Linked DNA regions of Homo sapiens: regions 1, 3, 4 and 5 are each linked to region 2. The links are contacts of gene promoters, found by promoter capture Hi-C in blood cells and fetal thymus (Javierre and others, 2016). All regions are on one chromosome and are shown on one strand. Each heading gives the region's core, a stretch centred on a gene start or on the middle of the fragment in contact. The rest is flanking DNA. Distances are from core to core; before and after follow the strand shown. Region 1 overlaps OSBPL8 (oxysterol binding protein like 8). Region 2 holds the start of PHLDA1 (pleckstrin homology like domain family A member 1). Region 3 overlaps LOC105369844 (a long non-coding RNA gene). Region 4 has its middle 13 kb from the start of BBS10. Region 5 has its middle 36 kb from the start of BBS10.

What was found. Contacts are between HindIII fragments. The CHiCAGO score rates a contact against its expected background, and 5 or more counts as called.
Region 1: a contact is called between a fragment that was not itself captured here and the fragment with the promoter of PHLDA1 in region 2, in 2 of 17 cell types (M0 macrophages and M2 macrophages). The highest score is 5.7, in M0 macrophages.
Region 3: a contact is called between a fragment that was not itself captured here and the fragment with the promoter of PHLDA1 in region 2, in 4 of 17 cell types (M0 macrophages, M2 macrophages, M1 macrophages and 1 more). The highest score is 12.6, in M0 macrophages.
Region 4: a fragment that was not itself captured here is called in contact with the fragment with the promoter of PHLDA1 in region 2 in 3 of 17 cell types (M2 macrophages, M0 macrophages and endothelial precursors); the score reaches 10.8 in M2 macrophages.
Region 5: a fragment that was not itself captured here is called in contact with the fragment with the promoter of PHLDA1 in region 2 in 1 of 17 cell types (endothelial precursors); the score reaches 6.1 in endothelial precursors.

Annotation. Positions count from the first base shown.
Region 1 is chr12:76,356,644-76,361,045 of GRCh38, reverse strand. It overlaps OSBPL8 (oxysterol binding protein like 8), which reads left to right. Exons shown (of 24, transcript NM_020841.5): 22 at 2,235-2,340; 23 at 4,318-4,402. Among named protein-coding and RNA genes, the nearest start is that of BBS10, 10 kb to the right of the region's middle. The HindIII fragment of the contact is 7,968 bases long and covers 1-4,402 here.
Region 2 is chr12:76,030,526-76,034,708 of GRCh38, reverse strand. It overlaps PHLDA1 (pleckstrin homology like domain family A member 1), which reads left to right and starts at 2,933. Exons shown (of 2, transcript NM_007350.3): 1 at 2,933-4,183. The coding sequence starts at 2,968. The coding sequence ends at 4,173. It overlaps PHLDA1-AS1 (PHLDA1 antisense RNA 1), which reads right to left. Exons shown (of 2, transcript NR_186034.1): 1 at 4,115-4,183; 2 at 3,331-3,798. It overlaps PHLDA1-DT (PHLDA1 divergent transcript), which reads right to left and starts at 2,896. Exons shown (of 2, transcript NR_185978.1): 1 at 1,907-2,896; 2 at 320-1,445. RefSeq lists an enhancer at 2,778-3,027 and a silencer at 3,248-3,397. The HindIII fragment of the contact is 8,299 bases long and covers 1-4,183 here.
Region 3 is chr12:75,740,176-75,744,304 of GRCh38, reverse strand. All of the region lies in intron 1 of LOC105369844 (a long non-coding RNA gene), which reads left to right. Among named protein-coding and RNA genes, the nearest start is that of KRR1, 230 kb to the right of the region's middle. The HindIII fragment of the contact is 2,472 bases long and covers 1,487-3,958 here.
Region 4 is chr12:76,333,401-76,337,536 of GRCh38, reverse strand. No RefSeq gene overlaps it. Among named protein-coding and RNA genes, the nearest start is that of BBS10, 13 kb to the left of the region's middle. The HindIII fragment of the contact is 1,359 bases long and covers 1,193-2,551 here.
Region 5 is chr12:76,310,074-76,314,790 of GRCh38, reverse strand. No RefSeq gene overlaps it. Among named protein-coding and RNA genes, the nearest start is that of BBS10, 36 kb to the left of the region's middle. The HindIII fragment of the contact is 7,990 bases long and covers 1-4,717 here.

The sequences.
Region 1 (4,402 bases), core at 1,580-4,079, 330 kb before region 2:
TGGCTGCAGAAATTTGCATTAGTAACAAGGAGCCGAATGTTAATCCCCAAGAAAATGGGGAAAATGTCTCCAGGGCATGTCACAGGTCTTCATGGCAGCCCCACCCTTCACCAACCTGGAAGCCTAGGAGGAAAAAATGGTTTCATGGGCTGGGCCCAGGGTTCCCATGCTGTGTGCAGCCTAGGGACTTGGTGCCCTACGTCCCAGCCGCTTCAGCCATTGCTAAAAGGGGCCAAGTTACAGCTCTGCCCATGGTTTCAGAGGGTGCAAGCCCCAAACCTTGGCAGCTTCCACATGGTGTTGAGCCTGTGGTGCACAGAAGTCAAGAATTGAGGTTTGGGAACCTCCACCTCGATTTCAGAAGATGTATGGAAACGCCTGGATACCCAGGAAAAAGATTGCTGCAGGGGCACGGCCCTCATGAAGAACCTCTGCTAGCACAGTGCAGAAGGGAAATCTGGGGTCGGAGCCCCCCACAGAGTCCCTACTGGGGCACTGCCTAGTGGAGCTGTGAGAAGCGGGCCACCGTCCTCTAGACCCCAGAATGGTAGATCCACCAACAGCTTGCACTGTGCACCTGGAAAAGCCGCAGACACTCAGCGCCAGCCCATGAAAGCAGCCAGGAGGGGATACCCTGCAGAGCCACAAGGGTGGAGCTGCCCAAGACTATGGGAACCTACCTCTTGCATCAGCATGATCTGGATATGAAACGTGGAGTCAAAGGAGATCATTTTGGAGCTTTAAAATTTTGGAGCTTTAAAATTTGACTGCCCCACTGGATCTCAGACTTGCATGGGCCCTATGACCCCTTTGTTTCCAAATTTCTCCCATTTGGAACAGTTGTATTTACCCAATGCCTGTACCCCCATTGTATCTAGAAAGTAACTAGCTTGCTTTTCATTTTACAGGCTCATAGGCAGAAGGGACTTGCCTTGTCTCAGATGAGATTTTGGACTGTGGACTTTTGGGTTAATGCTGAAATGAATTAAGACTTTGGGGGACTGTTGGGAAGGCATGATTGGTTTTGAGATGTGAGGACATGAGATTTGGAGGGGCCAGGGTAGAATGATACGATTTGGCTCTGTGTCCTCACCCAAATCTCATCTTGAATTGTACTCCCATAATTCCCACGTGTTGTGGGAGGGACTTGGTGGGATCTCACCTTGAATTGTACTCCCATAATTACCACGTGTTGTGGGAGGGACTTAGTGGGAGATCATTTGAATCATAGGGGCAGTTTCCCCCATATTGTTCTCGTGGTAGTGAATAAGTCTCACGAGATCTGATGGTTTTATCAGAGGTTTCCACTTTTGCATCTTCCTCATTCTCTCTTGCTGCCACAATGTAAGAAGTGCCTTTTGCCATCTGCCATGATTTTGCGACCTCTGCAGACATGTGGAACCATAAGTCAAATTAAACCTCCTTTTCATCCCAGTCTCGGGAATGTCTTTATCAGGAGCATAAAAACTGACTAATACATCTTGTCTTTCTGATTCTAGTTTCTTCTCTTGCATTTAGGTTTTTAAGTTTAATACTGAACACCAAAATTACAAATCTATTAATAGGATAGAGTCCAAAGTTATTATTCTAAGGAAAATTTAGTCATAGTTGATGGTTTCATATACTTTTGAATCTTGTGCATCCACTTCAATCCTTTCAGTAAGTTTAAATAATGCTCTACAAAATAATGGTATCATTTTTATTTATTATAAGATACTTTCTGTACTACCCAGATGTGATTAAAAGTAAATAAACCGTTTTACTGGAAACCCAGCATTGTTCAGTGGGAATGTTTCTAACATTGGGAACAAAATAAATATGATTTATACACACTATTATTTAACATTCTATTATTTAACATTCTACTAGAGAATAATAATAGCTGGTGCAGTCAGAGGTAGGGGGATCTATATTCATATTTGTTTATGTATACATAATAATATCCCTGGATATAAACTAATAGTGATGGGTACCTATTTAGTGGGAGAGAGACTGGGTATACTCTTCATTGTGTATTTTACTTTTTGACATTTGTGCCAAAGTACTTCCTATTAAAATAAGATCATTTGATTGCATAAGTGCATCACATTTGTTAAATTTGAATTAGACTATTTCATCATTGTCTTTATTTCTGAATATCATGCCTATGTGCAGATAATTTTGACAATTGTACACAGTTGGTCTTTAGTCCAAAATACAGTGCAAATTCACAAAATAGTTATTTTTTTCTTTAGGTTAGCGTCCCCAAAATGAAACATAAGCCAACCAGGCAACAGAAGAAAGTAGCAAAAGGCTATTCCTCCCCAGAACCTGACATTCAAGACTCCTCTGGAAGTGAAGGTAAAAATATTTATTGCAGACTAATGAGAGTCTAACTTTTTAATTACTACACAATTTGATATGAATATGGTTTTTCATATTAACTCAAGTTATGTGAGTTTTGGTCGGGGCAGGGTTGAGATACAAAAGCAATTCTAGATCATAGATAAGTTGTGAGACCAGGACGCAAGGTAAAGAAACAGAAAATGAAAAAGGGGAGACATCTAAATAAAAACCACACTCTAGGCAGGGTGTGGTGGCTCATGCCTGTAATCCCAGTACTTTGGGACGCCGAGGTGGGCAGATCACTTGAGGCCAAAAGTTCAAGACCAGCCTGGCTAACATGGGGAAACCCCGTCTCTACTAAAAATATGAAAAAATTAGCCAGGTGCGGTGGTGCACACCTGTAATCCCAGCTACTTGGGAGGCTGAGACACGAGAATTGCTTGAACCCCGGAGATGGAAGATGCACTGAACCGAGATCACACTACTGCACTCCAGCCTGGGTGACAAAGTGAGACCCTGTCTCAAAAAAAAAAAAAAAAAAAAAAGAACCACACTCTAGTAGTAGCTACCTCTTATGCCTTGTTAACCTCTGAAAAATTGCTGATGGTTCCCTAGATTGAATTCAGAAGCATTTTTTGAGCTTTGAACTCAGTTCCATGCTTCAAAAATGTTTTTCATTTCCAGAATAAATTACTGTAGTGTTTGGAAGTGACAGACAATAAAAATATAAAACTTAGCAACTGCTAGCTTAAATTGTACTCCATTCTTATTCGAGTCAGATAATGTGTAAAGTATCTTGAACTACATTGAGATATAATCATGAAAGGATTAAAGTGATGTTTGTGACATGACAAAAAAAAAAAAACTTTAAGCCATAATCTCTACTGAGTTTACACTGAACTAGGGAGCTCATTTTAACCTATAAAGATAACACTAGAAGTGAATAAATGGTAGATTACTAAGAAATTAGATGACAAGTGATAAAGAGTTTAAAGGAGAGGGAGCTCAATTCAGTTTGAGGGAAAGTTCTTAGAATCCTGATGAATTATTAAGATTTCTAATGGATTATAGCAATCTAGGCTTGGAGAGTGGGGTAGGGGTAACATACTAGAGTAGTTAGAGGAATGAACCGAATAAAGGTTTAAAAGCAGGAGTCATGTGGCATACCAGTGTGTTAGAAGAGAGTATTGGTTGTATTGTTGTTATTCCCATTTTACGAGAAAAGAAACTGAGACACAAGTTAACCTGCCTAAGGTCACATACCCCATAAGTAGGTATATGTATGTTATATATGCAGATTTTTTGGCTCCTTAATTCACCCTGTCATCCACTTTACTATATTACTATAATGTATCAGCAGACATTTATTGAGTAATTAATTTGTGCCAGACTGTATGTTAAATACACCTTACAACAACCCTGTGAAGTCTGGTATTATTATCCCTATTTTTAAAATGAGAAAGCTGACACTTGCAGAGAGGTTAAGTAGGATCTGAACAAAAATGGAAAGGAAGGAATGCATATGTAGGGAATTTGGAAAAACATGTACAGCTTGCTGATTGGCAGTAAAAATTTGCAGAAGTGGTGTCGAAAGGGATTTAAAGTTTAGGTAACTAAACACTCACAATAAAAAATTGGAAAAAAGGGCTCAAGAAGCTGACTTCAGAGGTAGGCAAATGGGCAAGGAACAGAAGAGAGTAATACCTTCCTCAAGTTAATATGTATTTCTAATGAATTATTTCTGTTTTAATTAGTTAAAAAAACTGGTGCCATCCAAAATTCAACTAATGTGTAGTACTTTAAATATATTTGTAGTGTTCTAGTATTGCAATGATGTGTTTGAAACTTCAAAAGTGCAGAGTATTCATATTACTATGCTAATCTCTAGGCTACAAAAACAAATGCCCAGGAAAATTTTTATTACATGAGACACATTAAATTGAACTGTAGATTATTTTTATAGTTTCAACTTCATTCTAAATGTCTTTTTAGCTCAATCAGTAAAACCAAGTACAAGAAGAAAGAAAGGAATAGAACTGGGAGACATTCAGAGTTCCATCGAATCTATAAAACAAAC
Region 2 (4,183 bases), core at 1,684-4,183:
CCTGGTATGTTTATTATTTTTTAACTTCAGTGTTTTATTCTTCGGCAGTAAGCAGTTGGATATAAGTTGGGGGTATAAATTTGGGACTCTGGCATATAGATGTTATTAAAAGTGATGAGACTGGATATCAACAAGGGAATGAGTGTAGATAAAGAAGAGAGCCAAAGACAAAGACTTGGGGCATTCCAACATTAAAAGTTTGGAGAGAAGAGAAAGCACCTCATAGAGGAGACACTGGAGATGTAAAGGAAAACTGAGTGATGTCCTTGAAGCCAAGTGATAAACTTTATCCAAGAGAAGAAAATGAACTGTCCAGTGCTGCTGATAGATAACTTTATATTGCCAGCTGTAAAATGTACTTTCAATTAGCCATTTCAAATTTGTTTACCAAAGCAATGATTTTGTTGGCTAGTTTTCTAAACTTCAGTAACTTTTCAGTGACTTGTAGGTTTTCATTGCATATACAGCTGAATTTTTTTTTTTTTTTAAACAGGGTCTTGCTGCCACCCAGGCTTGTATAGTGGTGCGATCCTAGCTCCTGCAACCTTGAACTTCTGGGCTCAAACAGTCCTCCACCTCAGCCTCCCAAGTAGCTGGGGCTACATGGCGCATGCCACCACACCTGGCTAATTTTTTTTTTACATTTGTAGAGGGAGGCCTTGCCATGTAGCCCAGGTTGGTTTCAAACTCCTGGGCTCAAGGGATCCTCTCACCTCAGCCTCCTAGAGTGTTGGTATTACAGGTGTGAACCACCATGCCTGGCCCAAAAGTTGTTTTTTTTTTTTTTAAGTTATTTTCTGTAATGCATTTTCTGTGAATTTATTGTCTTAAAAATTGGCAAATATGGCCATTTTGACATATTTGCCAAATATGAGCATATGGCAACTATGCTCTTAATTTGTTAAGTCACCAACTGTTGGTGGTAACTGTTGAAATAACAAGAGCAAAGTTATCACCAATCTACGGGATCCTTACACTACTGATATTTTCAATAATGCACCGTAGTCAGACATTGTAGACTTAACCTCTGAGCTGCTCACAAAATTACTAAATCATTCTGAAATACGTAACTGCAAATTCTGGGCTTTAAAGTCTCTAGTTAAATGGGTGATTTTGAAAATTGGTGGCTGTTCAGACATTTTCAAATGAGAATAGAATGCATTTGTTTCAGACTGATAAACTGCAGAAGGTTAGATAACACCAAACACATTTGAGTTTCTCCTAAGAAAATGACTTGGGCCTCCAGATTACATCTCATTTTTTTTTTTTTTACCCTATCAAGTTTGTTTTTCCATATGAAATGTCTTTCCCAACTACACCTGCCCTTGGAGACTGTGAATAACAGACTTAAAGGAAGTATCCTTTCCAGATGAGCTGAAGAATGTCATCCTCTTAAAAGAATGAACAGCTGGTCATGTAGAAATTCTCTGGAATGCTCACTTGTCCTACAAAGGCAGGGGAGCAGAAAACATGTAGTTTTTTTGTTATTGGTATACATAATTGTAAATCTTCGAGATAATTTTACTAGAAGTCCACATAATTTTAATAATTGCCTTTCTCCTGAAAAGATTGCTAATAAATTAACAATGTGAAGGCTAGAAAGCTGGCCAAGCATAATCCGGTGGGACTCAGGATTGCTGGCTGGATTGTCCCGTTTGATCAGACATTGTTTCTTAGATGAATATTCAGGACGCCCTCGTGTATAAAAGTTGTCCTTTGTTCTGACTACCTTGGTATTAAGTTCGAATTTCTTACCATGACACACAAAGGATTCGATTCTTGCTTAGCTCTCTAAGCTCCTCTCACTTTCTCTTCCCCTCTTGAATTCTTTGCTCTTGCCACACAACTAGCAGATGAACTAATCTATCTGTTCCAACGTGGGCACAGTAGCAGCCGTAACTCTTACCTTGGCCCACTCTGACTTGTCCAGCCCTGGTTGAATTCTTCGTATCCCCGTGAGGGTCCGCACGTAGTTGGGGCTGTTTACTAAACGGATGAACTTCCCTACCGGGAGGCTAGGTCTCGGTTATGCCTTACTTCCCAGGAAGCGGCTTCTATAGGCATTGTTTAAATGTAGGAGTAGGAGGGAGCTGGGGGTATTGCATTCCCCAGGTCACAGATAAATGAGATTCCAAAACCAAGATCTGGCTAGGCCTTGGAAAGAGGGACCTGCGAGGCCGACCAGACGTTTGGAACTGCGCCTTGCAGTGTGGGATCTCAGCACCGGATATTACCCCGGTTTGTAGAGAGTTGAGTTACTGTTTTAAGAGACGTTGCAAACCGTACGGGTCAAGAAGAAAGCCGAAGACGGGTTAGCGCCTGCGGTCGGGGTCGAGAAAAGCAGGCGAGATGCGACCTGACGTGGGTCCGCCTCTCTCCACCCGTGGCAAGCCCGACAGTCGCACTATTGCTTTAACAATCGCCCTCTTTCCAAGAAGAGCTACTTAGTGACCGTGAGCGAATATGCGTGGGAAGACACGATGTCCTCTCGGCCTCTGTGCGCTCAGTTGTTTACCTAGGCGTCCGGGGGAGGCACACTCGCGGGACTCGCGGGACTCGGCCCCGGCCTCCCAGCTCGCCCAGGACACGACGCTGGTTCTGCGGGCTCTCGGAGCCCAGCGCGAATCCCCCGGGCTAATTCCCAAGAACCGAGAGGCAGCACTGCCTGGAGGCTGCCCCCGCCTCCGCGCCCCCGTCCTCACTTTCTGAGGCTGTTAGCAGAGAGTCCCGCGGGCCGGGGAGAAGCGGGACGCGGGGGATGGCCTCGCAGCGCCCTGTGAGCGTCGGCAGTAGTCAGGCAGCCAGGGCTCCTTGGGCGATCGCCCTGGGTAGAGGAGAGGAGTTTCCGGGGCTCGGGTCCGGGTCGCCTTCCAGGGGAACGAGCGCGGAAGCAAGTGGGCGGCGAGAGGCGGAGCAAGAGACGCTGGAGGGCGTGGACGCAGCGGGCTTTGGAAAGGCCCCAAGTTAATGAGGCGTGCGCCGGCTGCCGAGCGCCTCTTGGAGCTGGGCTTTCCCCCGCGGTGCGGGCGCCAGGAGCCGCCTTTTCCGCTGGGTGTCACTCGGGGGTGGGGAAGATGGCCCATTCAAAAGCGCCGCGAGGGGGCCCGGCCAGTGCCCTTCAGTGAGCGCTCGCAAGAGGACGGCAGAGGCCCGGCAGCTCGGAGCTCCGGGACCTTGTGGCGCATCAGGACGCGGCTGTCCCTCTGCCGGGACCCAGAGCCGCCGCCGCCGCTCTGCCTCCTGCGTGTTAGCCTCCTCTGCGCGCTCCGGGCAGGCGGCCGTGGGAGCCGCTGGGGCGAGGACGGCGCGAGGCTGCTGCTGCTGCCCCCGGCCCGCGCGGCTGGAAACGGAGAGGCCGAGCCAAGCGGCGGCCCCTCTTATGCTGGGAGGATGCTGGAGAGTAGCGGCTGCAAAGCGCTGAAGGAGGGCGTGCTGGAGAAGCGCAGCGACGGGTTGTTGCAGCTCTGGAAGAAAAAGTGTTGCATCCTCACCGAGGAAGGGCTGCTGCTTATCCCGCCCAAGCAGCTGCAACACCAGCAGCAGCAGCAGCAACAGCAGCAGCAGCAGCAGCAACAACAGCCCGGGCAGGGGCCGGCCGAGCCGTCCCAACCCAGTGGCCCCGCTGTCGCCAGCCTCGAGCCGCCGGTCAAGCTCAAGGAACTGCACTTCTCCAACATGAAGACCGTGGACTGTGTGGAGCGCAAGGGCAAGTACATGTACTTCACTGTGGTGATGGCAGAGGGCAAGGAGATCGACTTTCGGTGCCCGCAAGACCAGGGCTGGAACGCCGAGATCACGCTGCAGATGGTGCAGTACAAGAATCGTCAGGCCATCCTGGCGGTCAAATCCACGCGGCAGAAGCAGCAGCACCTGGTCCAGCAGCAGCCCCCCTCGCAGCCGCAGCCGCAGCCGCAGCTCCAGCCCCAACCCCAGCCTCAGCCTCAGCCGCAACCCCAGCCCCAATCACAACCCCAGCCTCAGCCCCAACCCAAGCCTCAGCCCCAGCAGCTCCACCCGTATCCGCATCCACATCCACATCCACACTCTCATCCTCACTCGCACCCACACCCTCACCCGCACCCGCATCCGCACCAAATACCGCACCCACACCCACAGCCGCACTCGCAGCCGCACGGGCACCGGCTTCTCCGCAGCACCTCCAACTCTGCCTGAAAGGGGCAGC
Region 3 (4,129 bases), core at 1,473-3,972, 290 kb after region 2:
ACTTTTTCTCTAAAGGGCAAGATAGTAAACATTTTAGAATTTACTGATCATACAGTCTCGGTCATAACTACTCAACTCTGCCACTGTATGCAAAAGCAACCACTGACAATAAATGAGGGGATTTCAAAAAGTGCATGAAAAATTGAATGAAAAAATAAAAATTAAAAATATAAGTTTTCTTCTCAGCATGAGCTTCAAGTTCAAGACATTTTTGTAAGTGATGGTACCAGCCATTAAGTTCATCTCTAAAAAACTGGGAGTCCTGGGAATTCACCATGTCAAAGTAATGTTTTTTATATTATTAACTGAAGGAAAATGGGTGCCTTTAAAGATTTTTTTATGATTAGGAGGCAAAAAGAATTCAGAAGGAACTGAATCATGACTGTAAGATGGAAGCCTAATGATTTCTTACTGAAACTCTTGCAAATGGCCCTTGTTTGATGAGAGGAATAAACAGGTGCATAGTCGTGGTAGAAAAGGATTCTAGTGAAGCTCTCCTGAGTGTTTTTTTGCCAAAGGTTTGGCTAACTTTCTCAAAATACTCTCATAATAAGAAGATATTATGGGCGGGTGCGGTGGCTCACACCTGTAATATCAGCACTTTGGGAGGCCGAGGGGGGCGAATCACCTGAGGTCAGGAGTTTGAGACCAGCCTGACCAACATGGAGAAAACCCGTCTCTACTAAAAATACAAAATTAGCTGGGCATGGTGGCACGTGCCTGTAATCCCAGCTACTTGGGAGGCTGAGACAGGAAAATTGCTTGAACCTGGGAGGTGGAAGTTCTGGTGAGCTGAGATTGCCCCATTGCACTCCAGCCTGGGCAACAAGAGTGAAACTCCATCTCAAAAAAAATAAAAATAAGAAAATATTATTGTTCTTTCACACTTCAGAAAGTCAACAAGAAAAATGCCTTGAGCATCCCCCCAAAATTGTTGCCATGACCTTTGTTCTTGGCCGATTCACTTTTGCTTTGACTGGCCCCCCTCCACCTCTTGGTGGCCATTGCTTTGAGTGTGCTTTGTCTTCAAGATTGTACTGGTAGAGCCTTGTTTCATCTCCTGTTACAATTCTTAGAGGAAATGCTTCAGGATCTTGATACTGCATGCTTAAAATTTCCATTGAAACCCCTGCTTTTGTCTACAGCTGATCTGGGTGCAATCATTTTGGCAGCCATTGAGTGGAAAGTTTGTTCAACTTTAATTTTTCAGTCAGAATTGTGTAAACAGAACCAATGGAGATGTCTGTGATATTGGCTGTTGTTTCTACTGTTAATCATCAGTTCTCTTCAATTAAGGCAGGAAAAAAGATAAATTTTTTCCTCACAAATTGATGTAGATGATCTGCTGCTGCTGGCTTCATCTTCAACATCATCTCATCCCTTCTTAGGATGAGTGATCCATTTGTAAACTGCTGATTTCTTTGGGGCATTGTCCTGTAAACTTTTCATAAAGCATCAGTGATTTCATCATTCTTCCACCCAAGCTTCACCATAAATCTGATGTTTGTTTTTGCTTCAATTTTAGCAGAATTCATATTGTTCTTATAGAGGCTCTTTTCAAACCAACATCGTATCCTTGTTTATGCCTCAAACTAGATCCTTTTCAGATATGTTGTAACCAGTTGGCATGAGTTTATTTTGGTGCAAAAAAATTTGAACTCCATGCATAGTTTTTTTCATAATACGCATTTTCCATAAACTTTTAAAAGACTCCTCTCATATAAATGAATGGGCATAGTTGTGTTCCAATCAAACTAAGCACTGAAATTTGAATTTCAATAAATTTCATGTGTCATAAAATAGTATTTTTCTTTTGATTTATTTCCAAGCATTTTTTTTTACTTCACAGACTGCTCAAAAATAGATAGTGGGCCAGATTAGGACTGCGTGCTATAATTTGTTGGTCTTTGCACTAGAATGTCAACTAGAGAGTGATGGGATTGGATTTGTGCTTTTAGCCAGTGCATCTCAAATTTAAATGTGCATATGGATCATCTGGGTTCTGTTAAAAATGCAGATTCTGTTGTGAGAGTCTGCATTTTTAACCAGCTGCAGGACCATACTGGTGCTGTGGTTTGCGGACCACACCTTGAATAGCAAGGTTTTCAAAGATTGCACATTGGCATCCATCCGTGCAAGACAGCTTGGATTGTAGAGGGACCGGATGGGGATGGGGATGAGTGGTAAAGAGGAGTTAGAAGGCTTTGTAATTGTTCAGGATTGCACTAATTAGGGCCTATCCTAGGTCAGGGTCAGTGAGGTTGGAGAGGGACAGATGAGTATGAAAGACTTCTGGGAGGTGGACTCAGCAGGTCTTGGTTGCTGAGTGGATGTGAGAGACAGAGGGAGGAGAAATTGAGGTTGACTACAAGATTCTGTTGGCCAATGGTGCACTTAGCAAGACCCCGATGATCCATACGGAAGTGGGTACAGAGTAGGTGCTTAATCAATGTTGTTTAAATGAAAAGGCAAGGGGAAGAGCAAGTTGGGTTGGAAGGGGATGGGAGAGAGAAGAGAATTACCTCAATTTGGGGTAGTTTGAGTTTGATTCTTCAGAAACCAAGAGAAAGTAGTAAAGGCAGGTAATGTTTTGAAGGCAGAATGCTGCCCGAAGCTGCTGGTCTGGGAATGGGTTGTTTTCCATCAACTGAGAATTTGACCCAGAACAACAGCACTACGCGTTGGGTGTCCCTTATCTGAAATGCTTGGGAGCAGAAGTGTTTAGGATTTCATGATTTGTTTTGGTGGGCGGGGAGGGGGGATAGATTTTGGAATATTTGAATATATACAATGAGATATCTTCGAGATGGGACCCAAATCTAAACACAAAATTCATTTCTGTTTCACATTCACCTTATACACATAGCCTGAAGGTAATTTTATTTAATGTTTTTAGTAATTTTGTGCTCGTGAATCAGTTTTGACTGCATTTTGTCTTCATTCCATCACATGAGGTCAGGTGTGGGATTTCCCACTTGCAGGGTGATATCAGTGCTCAAAAAGTTTCAAGTTTTGGAATCATTTAGATTTTGGATTTCTGGACTAGAGATTCTCAACCTATACCAACCAGGAAGAGCATAAGCTATACCAAAAGTATACTGAGGGCATTTGCCACCTTGCAAGGGTTCTTATATAAATGTTTAACTTTATTCTTATTTTACAATAGAAATTTTGTTACAAAAAACCATCGGGCTGCGCGTGGTGGCTCACGCCTATAATCCCAGCACTTTGGGAAGCTGAGCCGGGCAGATCACCTGAGGTCAGGAGTTCAAGACCAGTCTGACAAACATGGAGAAACCCCATCTCTACTAAAAATACAAAAGTAGTCGGGCATGGTGACATATGCCTGTAATCCCAGCTATTCGGGAGGCTGAGACAGGAGAATTGCTTGAACCCAGGAGGCAGAGGTTGCATTGAGCCAAGATTGCACCATTGCACTCCAGCCTGGGCGATAAGAGCAAGACTCCATCTCAAAAAACAAAAAACAAAAAACAAAAAACCAAAAAAAAAACCATCAAGGAATCAGAATTTGCTTGCAAATGTTTTAAAGCTCTGGCCTGAGAATCAACTTAATTTAAATATTATACCATAAGGCCTGTTGTCTCAGGTTTTCTCCACTCCTATGTTTAATTTAGTTGTTCTGCTGAAGACACTAAATATCTGTCATATATCAAAGGAATTTGTCATTTATGTAATATTATATAATGCATTCTTAGATGAAGCAGGTTTTGTTTCCTGTTTTTTGTTTTTGTTTTTAGCCCACTTTTACCTTTGCAAATTCTGATGAAAGAAAAATTTACCTGAATTTGCTGGTGATCTTTTCTGTCACTGGCCATAGAAAAACCCCAAACATACCAGCAGTGTTTAATTAACAACCTCCTGATTCTTCCTTTGTCTCTAGTCCTTCCCTCTTTTAATCCATTTTACACATTATTGCCCAATTAATATTTCTGAAGCTTATCCCTGATCCTATTACTACCTTGTTCAATAAACTTAAATGACTCTCTGTGGTCTACATAAGTCTGCACTCCTCAGCCTGCTTTTCAGTGTGCACCACCATCTGATTTCCATATACATTTCCAAAAGATTTCCTATTACTCACTTTTACCCACCCCACCTGACAACAAAA
Region 4 (4,136 bases), core at 623-3,122, 300 kb before region 2:
TTTGGAGTATCATTCCTTAATATGGTGTGCGTGTGTGTGCACACACATGTGTATGTGTATAATACATACATTTATGTGATCATGCTACACATACTACTTTTCAGTGCTTTGTTTTCTTTTGCCTTTCTGCTTATCTCCCCACTCTTTTCTGCTCCTCCCTTCACGTTGGGCCCCAGCCACCACCCCCTAACCCAAGTAATCTTGTGAAATACCTACCTGGTGTTGTTCTATACATTTCACTATGCTGCTTATAAAATCATATACAAGCATGTGCGTACATATTCATATATGTTTATTTGGATTGATTTTGTCCTACTTGGTTGAGATTCCTCTTTGCTTCTTGTCACACTCGCTGCCCCCCAGGGAAGGCAAAGGGACTTACTTGTTGGGTTGGGTGGAGGAACAGCACATGCTTGGCTCAACATTCACTTTCTTTCTCTTAGTTAAAGAAGGGAAGCATGGTCAGCTTTACTGTCATAGGCCTGGAACAGGAGTCAGTGCTGTTGAGGACCATGACTGCATTTGGTCTGACTTAGAGATGGAGCATGGACCAGCCTGTTCGATTTAGCACTCTAAGGCCTGCTATTCAGCATAAGCATTATCCAGAGTTACTGTAGTTTTTCCAACTCCCTCAGCTTGACTCCCCTGTCTGCCTCCCAATGGGAGTAGAGTTATTTATTGGTTCCTCTAAAATCCCATAATCAACAGATATCACCAGCCTTAATTTTGAGACAGGGTCTGACTCTGTCACCTAGCCTGTATTGCAGTGGAGCGCAAACACGGCTGAACTGCAGGCTGAACTTCTGGGCTCAAGTGATCCTCCACCTCAGTGCACACCACCATGCCTAGCTAATGTTTTAATTCTTTGTAGAGATGAGGGTCTCACCATGTTTTCTATCCTGGCCTCAAACTCCTGGCCTCAAGTGTGAGCTGCACCCAGCCAACAATCCAGTTTTAAAAGCAGTCACTGGCATGGGCTTAATTTAGCCAAAGAGACCCAAATGCTGTTATTTGGCATAATATTAATTTTTTTCCAGCTCCAGGATGAGTTGAGACTCTAAAAAAGCCAAATTATTGAAAGAACCAGTGTTCCATGTTCTGTGCCACTGAATAAAAACTCCTTGATTAAACCTACTGCACACATAGAAAGATGAAATCAGAGACAATCTCTTCAGGTTGCAATCCCAAAGCTTGTCAAGGACCAGCAATATTCCTACTTTTGTGTGCCATGAAATTCCTCTACTTAAGTTATCTCAAAGAGTCTAATACTTGTAAGAAAGGAAACCAGTGAAAATGCTTTAATAAAGAAAGTAAAAAGATGGAAAGATTAGATGGAAGGAATATTTTATGAATTTGATTAGGTAAACAGAGGGGAAGAAAGTGGAAATGAGTTATTCCAGGGTGATGGGATGAAGATATTAGGTCTAATTAGGGTAGATTAGAAAACCACTAAGCACCAAACATATAAATAGCTTACAATGGCTCATTAGGTATGACTGGAAGCTACATCAAAACACTCATTAGTTAAAAGCTGCCAGGTTCCATTATGATTGAATATGTCCAAAAAAGGGCATGTATGATCAGAGTAGTGGTAGAGAATACAAGTTTTAAGTTTGGTGTGTCTTGTGTTTTGTTTAAGAAATCTTTGACTACTCCAAAGTTTGGGCCTTTGAAATGGTAACTAAGAAATCTAAGAAAAATACTGAATTTTGGCAATTTCTGCATAAATGCAAAATATAAGTATTTAAATATATTTTAAAATAATATATAATATTAATGCATATAAATATTAAATATATGTAAAACTGAGAAATCTAGTATAATCAATTCACACTATGAAAACTATCTTACAATGCCATAATGATGAACTGAAGAAAAAAGTCACTTTCAAGTTATCTCTTTTCTAACTCATAACAAACTTGATTTGATCTATTCTTCCAACAAAACATCTTCATGGAAATGCTTTAAATAGTAAAGCACAATTAAAATGCTTCATTAGAATTGCCGGTTTACTCACCATTCTCTCAGAAATTCCTCCAGTCAGCAGCTTCTTTGGAAATACAGAAAGCAACCTCCTGGCACTGTAACATGAACCAATCTGCAAAGATTTTATAATAGCACAGTGAAATGACTTTTACATTTGCCGTACTAAGCATCTTTAGTATGCCATACTTAGTACTTCCATACTAAGTAAAACATAAGTATGGCATGGTACAGAGAACATGGGCTTTAGAGACACACTGACTTGGTGTTTGCATCCTAGATTTGCCATTTACTAGTTGTGGGACCTTAAACAAGTTTCTCAAATTTGCCATACTTCCCTCATTGGTTCTTTCAGTTCTATATTGTGTAACAAATTATCCCCAAATTTAGTGGCTTGAAATAGCAAACGTTTATTCTCTCACATAGTTTCTATGGGTCAGGAATCTGAAAATAACTTCACCGGGTGGTTCTGGCTCAGGGATTTTCATAAGGTTGCAGTCAAAATACTGAAGACCTGAGAGGCTGAAGGATCCACTTCACTCATTCACATAGCTGCTGGCAGGAAGCTTCAGTCCCTCGCTCTGTGGGCGTCTCCATAGGACTGCTTGATGTGTTCAAATGACAGCCGGCTTTCCCCACAGTGACTGACCCAAGAGAGAACAATGCCTGTTTTGTTTTGCTTTTTAGACAGAGTTTACTGTCGCCTAGGCTGAAGTGCAGTGGGGCAATCTCGGCTCACTGCAACCTCCGCCTCCCAGGTTCAAGCGATTCTCCTGCCTCAGCCTCCCGAGTAACTGGGATTACAGGCACCCGCGACCACGCGCAGCTAATTTTTGTATTTGTAGTAGAGACGAGGTTTCACCACGTTGGCCAGGGTGGTCTTAAACTCCTGGCCTCAGTCGATCCGCCCGCCTCAGCCTCCCAAAGTGCTGGGATTACAGGCGTGAGCCACCGTGCCTGGCTGAGAACAGTGCATTTTTTTATTTTTTTATTTTTTGAGATGGAGTATAGTTCTATTGCCCAGGCTGGAGTGCAGTGGCACAATATCGGCTCACTGCAACCTCCACCTCCTGGGTTCAAACAATTCTCCCGCCTCGGCCTCCTGGAACAGCTGTGATTACAGGCACGTGCCACCAGTCCCAGCTAATTTTTGTATTTTTATTAGAGACAGGATTTTACCATGTTGGCCAGGGTGGCCTCGAACTCCTGACCTCAGGTGATGCGCCCGCCTTGGCCTCCCAAAGTGCTAGGATTGCAGGCGTGAGCCACCGAGCCCGGATAAGAACAGTGACTTTTAACATCACTCCTGCTGCATTCAATTCATGAGAAGTGAGTCACAGAGTCAGCTCACACTCTAGGTGAGGGGAATTAGTCTCCACTCTTTATTAGAGGGAGGAGTGTCAAAGAATTTATGGATGTGGTTTAAAATCATTAAGTCAGTAAAACAGAAACAATAAGATCGACCTTATCTTACACTTTAAAGGGTCAAAGGTAAACATCAAGAACCATGCTGGCTTGGAAACATATATGCATTTACTGAGTCTTCATTGAGTACCCTCCTGGGCTGCACACTCAGGATTAAACAATGAGCAAAACTCATAGAATTCCTGCCCTCATGAAGCTCACAGTTTAAAAATGGGGAAGATTGACATGAATCAAATGTTACATAAACAAATGTAAAATTGCTGCCTCAATATATGCATGGTGCACAGTAGAGGGATTTGATCTAATCAGGAAAGTTTCTCTGAGGAAATTATGTTGACACTGAGATCTCAGGGTTGAGTAAGAGTTGATGAGGTGCAGAAGGAAGAGAAGAGAGTTCTAGGTGAAGTATTCAACAGACATGAGACTTGTGGGCGGAGGTGTGGAGAGGACAAGGCACTGAGGAGGCCAGCATGGCTGGGGCAGGGGAGGCTGCACTTGGATGCAGGAGAGGTGTATTAGTCCATTTTCACGCTGCTGATAAAGATATACCAAGACTAGGAAGAAAAAGAGGTTTAATTGGACTTACAGTTCCATATGCCTGGGGAGGCCTCAGAAGCATGGCGGGAGGAAAAAGGAGCTTCTAACATGGTGGCAGCAAGAGAAAAATGAAGAAGAAGCAAAGGCAGAAATCCCCTGATAAACCCATCAAATCTCATGAGGCTTATTCA
Region 5 (4,717 bases), core at 503-3,002, 280 kb before region 2:
GGGACCTGGTCCCTGGTCTACGTACCCCATTCTTCAGGGCAGAGGTTTCCTGTGTTTCTTTTTTTCTCTCTTTCTTCCTTCCTTCCTTCCTCCCTCCCTCCTTCCCTCCCTCCCTCCCTCCCTCCCTCCCTCCCTTTCTTTCTTTCTTTCTTTCTTTCTTTCTTTCTTTCTTTCTTTCTTTCTTTCTTTCTTTCTTTTTTCTTTCTTTCTTTTTCTTTCTTTCTTTTCTTTTTCTTTCTTTCTTTCTGTTCTTTCCTTCTTCTTTCTTTCTTTCTTTTCTTTTCTTTCTTCTTTCTTTCATCTTTCTTTTTGACAGAGTCTCACTCTGTTGCCCAGGCTGGAGTGCAGTGGTGCCATCTCAGCTCACTGCAACCTCTGCCTCCCAGGTTCAAGCAATTCTCCTTCTTCAGCCTCCCAAGTAGCTGGGATTACAGGCACCTGCCACCACGCCCTGGCTAATTTTTGTATTTTTAGTAGAGACAGGGTTTCACCGTGTTAGCCAGGCTGGTCTTGAACTCCTGACCTCAAGTGATCTGCCCACCTCAGCCTCCCAAATTGCTGGGATCACAGGCATGAGACGTCATGCCCAGCGCTCCTGTGTTCCAATTTTCCTACTTTCTGGCCCTGGAGCAATTGAGGCCACTTTAGAGAAGTGACAGCTTGACCACCACGTGAGATCATCTGAGGTCTTAATTGTAAAATTCTATTTTAAAAATGCTAATATTGGGAGTGGTGATGGTGGTAAAATCATATTTTTATATTTTTAATATACATAATTTTATTTAATTAGTTACTTTCATGTTATCACCATCATTTTTATAATCACAAAAATTACTGTAATTTTGGATTTTAATATATGTCAGACACAATGGCATATTCTTTACATGCATTATTCCCCTAAATTTTGAGGTACATGTTATTCCCCATTTCCTAAATAAGAAGCTGGGGCTTACTGAGGTTAAGTATTTGCCCAAGGTCACGGAATCAGTAAGTGGGAAGCCAGGACTCAAATTCTGTGGATTTTGAGTTAAAGTCCATGACTGTAACTACTCTGCTCTTCTGGCAAAATGATGAGGACAGATATTTCCTTTCCTAAATCTTAATTTTTTCACCAGTAACGATGTTCATAGCTCACATCTGTCTTATTTTTTATAGAGAAGAAGGGGCTTGGATATTTGAAAAGGGTTTTTCTGCCAAAAAGAGGAGAGAGAGAAGGATGAAGAGGCACCCAGCACTGCCAATGCAGGCATGAAGCCAAACCCGTTTGTCTTCCCTGGTATACAGAGTGACCACAGGGGACATTTTAAAAGCTCTAGGGAGTTAGAGAGTGCTGAAGAAGAAATCTGGGCAGCAGGGCTGCGGCCAGCCTTTCAGCAGTTTGTGCTGGGAGCTGCTCCCCAATGAGACTTTCACCTCAGCTGGGTTTGCGCGCCGTACTCCCTAGGCTGAAAGTTCTCTGGATCGGTCTCCTCGAAGCAGTGCTCCCGACAGGCAGCACTGAGCCTTTCACCTGGAAGGAGGAAAAGAAGGGTTTCGTAGACACAAATGGGGAGGAAGGCGAGGGCTGCCCTGTTACTGCGATGCCCTCATCAGCCAAGTCTGGGCTGCTCCCTTTTTTTTTTTTTTTGAGACTGAGTCTCACTCTGTCGCCCAGGCTGGAGTGCAGTGGCGCGATCTCGGCTCACTGCAAGCTCCGCCTCCCGGGTTCACACCATTCTCCTGCCTCAGCCTCCGGAGTAGCTGGGACTACAGGGCCTGCCACCACGCCCGGAGAATTTTTTGTATTTTTAGTAGAGACGGGGTTTCACCGTGTTAGCCAGAATGGTCTCGATCTCCTGACCTTGTGATCCTCCCGCCTCGGCCTCCCAAAGTGCTGGGATTACAGGCGTGAGCCACCGCGCCCAGCCCGCTGCTCCCTCTTTTTAAAGAGTGGCTCCTCCCCCTGTTCTAGCTTTCAGGTCTGACCAGAAACAGTCTCTTCTTTGACTCTGCCTCCTTGACCACAGTGAGTGGTCCAGGGATAAGCAAGTCAGATTGACTGAAGTGGGGAGAAGGCTCTCAAAGGTCCTGAGACTGTAAGATGTAAGAGACTCTGAAGAAATGAAAATTTTCCACTGTAGGCCTCCATGTCCTTGTCCACTGTAGCTGTTCCTCCCCACCCCCGCCGCTCACACATGACCGGACTGTTCCTCCCACTCCTCTTGGTAAAATCCAAGTTGTCCAAACAGTGACCGCTAATTGCTAAAGAAAATTCCTTCCTTTTCTAGGAACCATCTTTGTTCTTAAAACAAAGTGAACTTGAGCTGACCCTGCCTGCTGAAGCCCTATAAAAAATTCCACCCTCCTTCCCAAGTTAGAACGCTCCTTTTCACGCCGGCATTACTGAAAGGCTTATGCTAATGGTGTTCTTGGTTTTTTCCACAGAGGATATAAGTTAAGAGATGTTGAGATGCTAGCAGCAGGTCTACAGCTTGTGGAGAAGCCAGTCTGGGAGAAGGAAATTAACGTGCAAACAGGTTAAGAAATAAGTGGTAGAGGGAGAGACAGAGAGATCCCCTCGCGTTTAATTTTCCATCTTGCTTCTCTAAGACCAGGATTCTTCCCTGTTCTTCTCATTTTTGGTTATGTAAGTAAATTAGTTAAAAATGTAAGATTAAAAAAAGGAGCACCACAACATCTTCACATGTGGCTGTGCAAACGTAATGTTATAACTGTATACTGAAAGAAATTCGAATTTAGAGCCTCGGTGTCCAGGAATAAGGGTAAACATTATCTTGTCCTTTCACATAGCTCTGTCAGCTCACTCTCTTCTGGGTAAATGATGAGTCAGAAACACAGGATTCTTCTCTCATTCAATGCCACCCTCACTTCTGGGAATGAATAAGTTGCTGGAGAATCAGGATGTTGAAGAGTAATTTTTAAAAAACCCATGCAATTACACAATGCCAAAAATCTTGTTTCACTTATTATTTATTTATTTTTACTTATTTATTTTTTTTGAGACGGAGTCTCGTTCTGTCGCCCAGGCTGGAGTGCAGTGGCACAATCTCGGCTCACAGCAAGTTCTCCCTCCCGGGTTCACGCCATTCTCTTGCCTCAGCCTCCCAAGTAGCTGGGACTACAGGTGCCCACCACCACGCCCAGCTAATTTTTTCTATTTTTAGTAGAGACGGGGTTTCACCATGTTAGCCAGGATGGTCTCGATCTCCTGACCTCGTGATCTGCCTGCCTCGGCCTCCCAAAGTGCTGGGATTACAGGCGTGAGCCACCGCGCCCAGTCTATTTCACTTATTATTTAATAAGGAAACCAGTAAGAAGTAAAAATTGGTTGAAAGGAGAATTCAAGGACAAAACACATATATAGGCAATCAGAAATATTGAATTAATTTTGCCTATAGATGCAAAACTAGCCTCTTCCATAGAGTGGAAATCAATACACCTTCATTGGACAAAAGTCATTCTTATTTCTAAGAACAGGAATCATGTACATCACCACCAACCTTCCACCACTTAACTTCAATTTCTACAGATTTGCAAAATAGTCAAGGACAATGAAAGACACAGACCCACGTAGAATTTGATAAACCTGAAAGGGTCCTGTTTCCAGAAATTTTGTCAAGAATTCAATCTGTGTAATTTGATCCCCTACACAGGATCCATAGACCGGCTTAAATAGATGTGAGATTTGAATAACTGAATTTGAGAAATTGCCGGAAAATACACTATACATTTCCATCAAACCAAGAATATTCCTCTATTTTCATACAGTCCCCAAACTCAATTCACGGTCATTGTGACAACACAGCAACCACCTACATTTCTATTTTGCTCCATAAATTTTAGTTATGACAGGTTAGCCAGGCACACTGGAAAATCTCGCCACCAGCCCTTTGCACCCCACAATGAGATGCATGTGCAGATGGAGAGCTGTTGCAAAAACTAGGGCTTCCGTAGGGAGAGGGGGAAGGTTTACAGATTCCAAAATCAGAAGAAACACAACATCTGAATATGAACTTGTAGCCCCAATTAGGAAAATCTGAAAATCATGAGGGAAAGACTTTTAAACCAGCACCTCTCTTATGGGGCCCCCACCTGCTGCTTGGACATGATATACTCACATTTTGATATTCCATCCTGACTGTATTAGAAAGTATGATCCACACTCTTTCTTAGGCAAAGGCTCAAGAAATAAAAATGCTCAGTCTGGTGTGATTGTTCCTCAGAGCTTATGGTGGATTTTCTTGCTTCTTACTAGGAGAAAAAAATGGTCAAATAAAGCAAATTGAACACCTCACAAGCAAGTGGAGAATCAGCCTTGGATAGTTTCCCCATTCATAGCTGTGAAAGAGGTGGACACAGAGCCTGAGAGTCAGTAACTGCAAAGACAAAGCCAAAGGAAGGATCAGCACAGGCCCAAGTGAGGGAGTGCCACTGTAGACTTACAATTCTGGAGCAAGTCTAAAGACTCTTACTGTTGTTGATAGAGCATGACTCATTTATCTGGCATGGTTTGGGATGCTCCCCTATGGTTTAAATACCAGAGTTGGTATTGTACCTGGTAGTACAGTCTAGGTTCATTCTTTTATCCATTTCTTCATTCACACACAGGCATACCTTGTTTTACTGTTTTTCACTTTATTGCACTTCTCAGATACTGCATTTTTAAAACATGGAAGGTTTGGCTGGGCACGGTGGCTCACGCCTGTAATCCCAGCAG